Linked DNA regions of Homo sapiens: region 2 is linked to region 1. The links are contacts of gene promoters, found by promoter capture Hi-C in human tissues and cell types (Jung and others, 2019). All regions are on one chromosome and are shown on one strand. Each heading gives the region's core, a stretch centred on a gene start or on the middle of the fragment in contact. The rest is flanking DNA. Distances are from core to core; before and after follow the strand shown. Region 1 holds the start of FKBP1A (FKBP prolyl isomerase 1A). Region 2 overlaps RAD21L1 (RAD21 cohesin complex component like 1).

Evidence for each region. Contacts are between HindIII fragments. The study calls those that stand out against the background at their distance.
Region 2: a contact is called between a fragment that was not itself captured here and the fragment with the promoter of FKBP1A in region 1, in 1 of the 25 tissues and cell types used here (H1 embryonic stem cells).

Annotation. Positions count from the first base shown.
Region 1 is chr20:1,391,371-1,394,615 of GRCh38, reverse strand. It overlaps FKBP1A (FKBP prolyl isomerase 1A), which reads left to right and starts at 1,562. Exons shown (of 5, transcript NM_000801.5): 1 at 1,562-1,654; 2 at 1,735-1,782. The coding sequence starts at 1,618. FKBP1A-SDCBP2 (FKBP1A-SDCBP2 readthrough (NMD candidate)) reads left to right here and starts at 1,444. Exons shown (of 10, transcript NR_037661.1): 1 at 1,444-1,654; 2 at 1,735-1,782. MIR6869 (microRNA 6869) reads left to right here and starts at 1,655; the gene lies at 1,655-1,716. RefSeq lists silencers at 1,506-1,555, 1,756-1,855, 1,866-1,935 and enhancers at 1,670-2,170, 2,962-3,245. The HindIII fragment of the contact is 6,579 bases long and covers 1-3,202 here.
Region 2 is chr20:1,237,033-1,240,277 of GRCh38, reverse strand. It overlaps RAD21L1 (RAD21 cohesin complex component like 1), which reads right to left. Exons shown (of 14, transcript NM_001384355.1): 6 at 2,064-2,234; 7 at 871-966. Among named protein-coding and RNA genes, the nearest start is that of RAD21L1, 13 kb to the right of the region's middle. The HindIII fragment of the contact is 5,639 bases long and covers 1-3,245 here.

The DNA of each region.
Region 1 (3,245 bases), core at 313-2,812:
AGTAGAAACTGGGTTTCACCATGTTGGCCAGGCTGGTCTTGAACGCCTGGCCTCAAGTGATCTGCCCGCCTCAGCTTCCCAAAGTGCTGGGATTACAGGCATGAGCCACCGTGCCCAGCCTCAGGTATTCTTTATAGCAGTGTGAGAATCGACTAATGCAGAAGCACACACACACACAGATCAGAGAAAGATTAGTCACATGTGCCTCCTTATGTCCTAGACCATGTCACAGTGTTCTCTTGCGTTACAGTGCCTCTGCAGGTACTGCTCCTTCTGCCTCCCCTTACCCCAACACATACACACAATTGGCCTTCTAACCTTGGCTAAACCTGGCTAAACCTGGCTAACTCAGGGAAATATCTGACCACATTCCAGACTAAGTGAGGCATCTCTGTTATATTAACACGCCCCTCACAGCATGTATTACTGTCTCATAATATTACAGATTTGAAACTTTACATTTATTCCGTATCTTTTTTTACTTAAACAGGTTATTTGATTATCTCTCCCACATCATACGTAGATTCTGTGAGGTCAGGGACTAAGTCTGACTCCTTCACCGCTGTATCCTCAGCACCTAGCACAGTACATGACATACAGAAGGTGCTTGTCAAAGTCAAAATAAAATATGGAGATGAATCTCTAAATGTAATGTTTTATTTGGGGAAGCGAGAATCGCAACTCGGAGCATACACACAGATCTGGTGGTCTTTGGTATGTCCGAAAAACAAAGAGAAGGCTGGGCGTTTTATTAGAAAGGGAAATGCATTGGCACTAGTAAAGTTTCAGGGAGCTGGCAAGCTCTGATTGGTGACTGACAGTGGTAAGTAAAACTAGTATTAGGTTATGGCGGGTTGTTTCAGCAGTTACTAGCTGAATCTGGTCTCAGGGGGACAGCAGGCCATTTCCGCAGCAGTTAGTGGAAATATTGGTTCTTGGAGCAGGCGCTGCGTGCCTCCAGTGCTTTTCCCCTGGCCCCTGGATTCTGATTCCGTTGGGCATAAGAAGAGTGACCCAATTCGTATTATCAACTTTCACATGCTCAATAAGAATGTATGCATGTAAGCTATGGGTGAGTGAATGAATTTGGACAACTCCTCCTCCAGTGAAGAAAAGCAGAACTTACAACCTTGAGCCACTTATAAAATACTAACATACTACCACCACCTGTGCGCTGTCTTCTCAGAACCATGCTCTTCCCAGGATGAGTAACTGTGTGCTTCTAAGTGGAAACCTGATGACAGTCACCCAGTCAGTGACTGGCGGACCCCCTATTATTACTCCCATTCTTTGGGCAGGGAGATGCTTAACCGGCTGGAAGCACAGAGGAAGGGCAGGAGAACGAAGCAAGTCACCCGGCAAACACAGCTGTATCCGGAGGCCTCCGGGCTTCCGGAGGTCTCGGGGCTTCTGGGCTTCCGGTCCCTCTTCCGGAGGCCTGGGTTTCCGGGACGTCGCGCGCCGTGTGGGGCGCGCACGCAGGGCTGGGCGTGAGGGGGCGTGCGCGTGCGCAGGCGACGCGCCGAGGTACTAGGCAGAGCCGTGGAACCGCCGCCAGGTCGCTGTTGGTCCACGCCGCCCGTCGCGCCGCCCGCCCGCTCAGCGTCCGCCGCCGCCATGGGAGTGCAGGTGGAAACCATCTCCCCAGGAGACGGTGAGTAGTGGCGCGCGGCGGCTCGGAGTACCTCTGCCGCCGCGCGCATCGGCTCAGCATGCCCGTCTCTGTCTCCTCAGGGCGCACCTTCCCCAAGCGCGGCCAGACCTGCGTGGTGCACTACACCGGTGAGTCGGGGGCCCAGCGGGGAGGGGGCCCGGGCCGCAGTCCGCAGCCCGGGTGCGGCTGGCCGTCGAGGCCTGGGGGCCCGGGGCCTGGGGTCCGGGGCGTGGCGGCGGCGAGGTCCGCATGGCCCGAGGCTGAGGCCTGGGCGGTGGCTCAGGGGCAGCCTGGGGCTTGCGGAACCCGGGCGGGTCTGAATCGGCGGCTGTGAGCGTCGGCTGCGGGCTAGGTGTTATCTGACCCGTCAGAAGCATTTCTGCACCTTAGATGCTGCCCTTATGCCCGCTGCACAGATGAGGAAACTGAGGCTTGGCGAGGCGAAGTCACTTTCCCAAGGTCTCACTTTCCCAAGGTCACACTTTCAGGAATGGGCAGAGCTCTGGCCAGGGACCATTAGGAAGGATTTGTACCATTTCTGTGCCCCTGCCCCCACTTCCATCCCTCCCTTCACTGGAGATGAGGACGAGGTAATTCCGAGTCTGCAGAGCTGCTGCTTCCTCCGGGGAACTCGGAATTCGCCCCTTTGCCTAGGGTGGGGAAACATCCCACTTCCTAAGTCATTGCTTTGGCCCTTCCTGGCCTTGGGGGAAGTAGAGCTGCACGGCCTTCTTCCGTCTTTTTACTTTTGAGCCACTTACAAATCCAAGGCTCAGTGACAGCGCTGGCTCAGGCTGACCGAAAGCTGCACGTGTAATTTAGTCCCCCAGCTCTTCTAGAAGTAGAGACTTTTCTCGTCCTCATTTTAAAGATAAGCATCTGGAGGCTAATACATAGTGATAATACAAGCCAAAGGAAATTTTAGACACCTCCCCCTCCCCAGCCAGAATTCAGACATCAGAGTCGTGTGCCTTGGGGCTGTCTTACTCCTTCTCCTTACAAGCTTGTCCTGGTTTGTATGGGGGCGGGGGAGGGGGAGAGCTGAGTTGGCGGAGACTCAGTGGCTGTGGGTCCCACAAGGGTGGCAGTGATTGGTGTAGCCACAGTTGTTGATACGAATAACCTTCCCTCCCCCTCCTCCTTCCCCTTTCTCAACCTTCCCACCCTTTCCTCTGTTCCCCCTCCTCCTCCCTCTTTTTTTCCCACTCCCTCTCCTCCTCTTCCTCCTCCTGGGTAGTAGGCTGTGGGCAGTTCTGGCCAAGTTGCTCACGAATAAGCTCCACCTTTCTCTTCCAAATCATGGAAACATGGAGGGATCCCTCTATTGAGGGAAATGACTTTCACTGGAAAGAGGAAAAGGCAACTAACATCCCCCCTCCCATGCCCTTTTATTTCTGTGGCCCTTCCCCGTGGGTAGAAATGGGGGCAGGAGGTAGAAGTTAAGGACTAGAACTTTAAAAATTCTGCCAAAGGAGGAGTTACTGAAACCCATCTTTCTGGGGAGCAGGCAGTCTCATGTCCGTGAAGGAAGCTGGAAAGTGCTTTTGATGTTTTAGATAGCTGTCCTTGTAGGCCACAGTCAGCACCTGAG
Region 2 (3,245 bases), core at 297-2,796, 150 kb after region 1:
AGGATGCAGGCTAGAGGACTGTATGAGAATTAAAGATAAAGATAAACTAACTGAAGATTTATATTACTAACTGGAACATCTGAATTCTTAGAACCATTTATTTAATAGAGCTGAAGAGGCTTACAGATTATATGGTGTGGGACCCACAGTATTCGAGTGAGTCAAGTATCATCATCCCCTTTTGCACATGAGACATCTAAGGGTGGGCTAAAGTCACAGCAGATGTGAAAACAGTGGCAGCAACTACAGTAAATGACTGATAACAATTTGACTATATGTCTGCTAAAAAAAAATTCTATTCTGTTAAATCACTTATCAGTTGATCCATAAAAAACCATAAGTAAAATTTTATTACTTTTAGCTCTTTGTATTTTCAGTTTCTACTGTTGTTTTTAGAAAGCAAATATAACATCAAAAATTGTGGCAAATAAAAAATGGGGCTAATTGTACTTTTAATTCTTAAGAAAAATCAGACTAAAATACCTCAAATCATCTGAGGTACTTCCGTATGAATTTCAAATAGGGAAAATATCCTCAATTTGTAATTTCTCTCAAATTGTATGTAGATTATCAAACCATACTAGTTAATAAATTTTCTTACCATTTACCATATACTATTTTAATAATTCAAAAAGCACAATATATTGGCAGAGTTCTCTCATGCTAAGCCCAATCCTGGCTAAATACCCTTCAGTGTACCTTTATCAGAATCCAATTTCCTATTTTATATTGTCTACAGTCAGACTAACAGAGTCTGAAAGACATTGTTCTTTATCTTTCACTATACTATATTGCTACTTAAATTCAGAAGTTCTGAGGCTTAAACATTAGTAACCCATTACTTTCTCATAAAGGAAAATTTCAACCTACCTGCTAAACTATTGGGAGGCTCAGAAGGCAGGGAAATTTCTCTGTTCAAATGCATGTCTTCTAACAGGATATTCTGATCATCTTGCAATAGATTGTCTTGAAAAACACAATGAATATTTTTTCATACAGACTGGAATCTGTCATTTGTTCACTAAACATTTATTAATGTTACTTTATGCATTTCATTGTAAAGGAATAACCAGATCTTTAATGTGAACTAGAGAATTTTAAAAAAGATTTGATAGGAACAGCCAATAAATAATCTTTAAAACGTGCATTTTGGCTGGGCGCAGTGGCTCACTCCTATAATCCCAGCACATTGGGAAGCTGAGGCGGGTGGATCACCTGAGGTCAGGAGTTTGAGATCAGCCTGACCAACATGGTGAAACCCCATCTCTACTAAAACTAGAAAAAAAATTAGCTGGACATTGTGGTGGGCACCTGTAATCCCAGCTATTCAGGAGGCTGAGGCAGAAGAATCACTTGAACCCAGGTGGCAGAGGTTGCATTGAGCCAAGATGGTGCCATTGCACTCCAGCCTGGGCGACACAGCAAGGCTCCGTCTCAAAAATAATAATAATAATAATAAATAAAACATGTGCATTTGGACTTCTTAGTTTTTCTCTACCCGATTTCTATGACTATTTTATAATGTGAAATAGTCTATGTTAAGAGTAAAACAAATAAAACTGATAAAATAAAGAAGGCAATAAATTGGTAGAAGGCCTTGAGGATAGGTAGAGGTATTTGATACAGTAAGTCATGGGGACCCAAGGCCTTAAGCAGGGGAATATAAATATAAAATAATAATATAAAATTCTGGAAAATAACTTAGCTGCCCCACAATGTATGTTAAAGAAAACAATGTTTTCCAGTACATAGCCTAGTATATTTTATAAGGAATATACTAACCTCACTCTCTCCCCTCCAAAAATTAGGAATTTGTAAAAATAAAAACAAGCAGTAGTTCATAACCTCTATAGAAAATATATTTAAACAGACGGCTATTTACTTAGGCCTAGCCTAAATGTTTAAACATGCCACAGACTTTGAAAACTTGTATAAAAAAAAGTATTGACCTACATAACACAAAAACATATTTGAAATTTTAGATTGATATAATAAATCTACTAATATATTGTAGTAATTTGATGAAAATAAATATTTTATTTCCACATGACCAGATAGCATACCAATCATTTCTCCTGCAGCTCCTTCATCTCCAAACCCATCTCCACTGTCATAGAATAGAGATCGTTCTCCAGTGAGGCTTCCAGAACTATGTTCAATTAAAGGACCACTGGAATTCAGTAATATGTTGTCATCAAAGAAGCTATGTCTTCTGAGAATTTCAGATTCCTCCCCTAAATAAATATATATCATTAATACTAATTCATAGAAACACAGAATTATAGGGTTAGAAGGAAATTCAGATATCATCTAGCATAATCTTGTCATCCAACACCTCATTTTATAGATGAAGAGAATGGCTGAAAGACTTACTTGAATTATTCAACTAAGGTCACTCAATCAGTAGAGACATGATTTTTAGTCTAATGCCCTTTCAAATACAATGGAAAAAATGCCAACATATTACATAGAGTTTATAGTTGTGATATAGTTTAATAACTTCCTAAGGTAAAAGTACTATGGAAAATAATTTATTCTATTTTAGGTAAGTAAGTTCTGCTTGACCAAGTATATTTCATAGTATTTCAAGGACAATTGCTTGTAGTGTTCATGCATAGTGGAGGTTTGGAAAATAAGGAACATGTTAGTCATCTCAGGAAATGGAAACGTAGGTAAAATATTAAAGAATGGGCTTACAACATTCATTCAATAAATATCGAATATGCTAGGAGGCAGTGATAGAGGTCCGTTAAAAAAAAAAAAAGACAAACCCAGTCAGCTAACAGTAACCGAGTGTTTATAGTATGTATTATATTATGTAATAGAAGATACTATTATAATTCTCATTGTACAGATGAGGAAACACATCCACAGAAAGGTTTTGTAACTTGCACACAGTCACACTATAATAAATGACAAGAGTCAGGATCTGAACCCAGCTCTCTCTGACTCCAGAGCCTGCATCCTGACAATCACAACACTACACTGATAGTTCCAGGGGACCAGAAGTCAGCTCTTGACCAGACATCAGTTATTTCCCTCTCTTGGGTTTGAATCTCTAGGTCCAGGAGTCTGAAACCCCAGAGGTCCAAGGTTAGTCTTCTCCTCCCTCTAACAACCCATGTTAGTGTTAGACAGTAAAGAAAATCATGAAGTATTACCCATATTGAAAATTCTTCTATAGACCTAAATCTTCTAGAATGGAAGAGTGGAAAAAAACAACTATCATGACAATGGATTAAAGA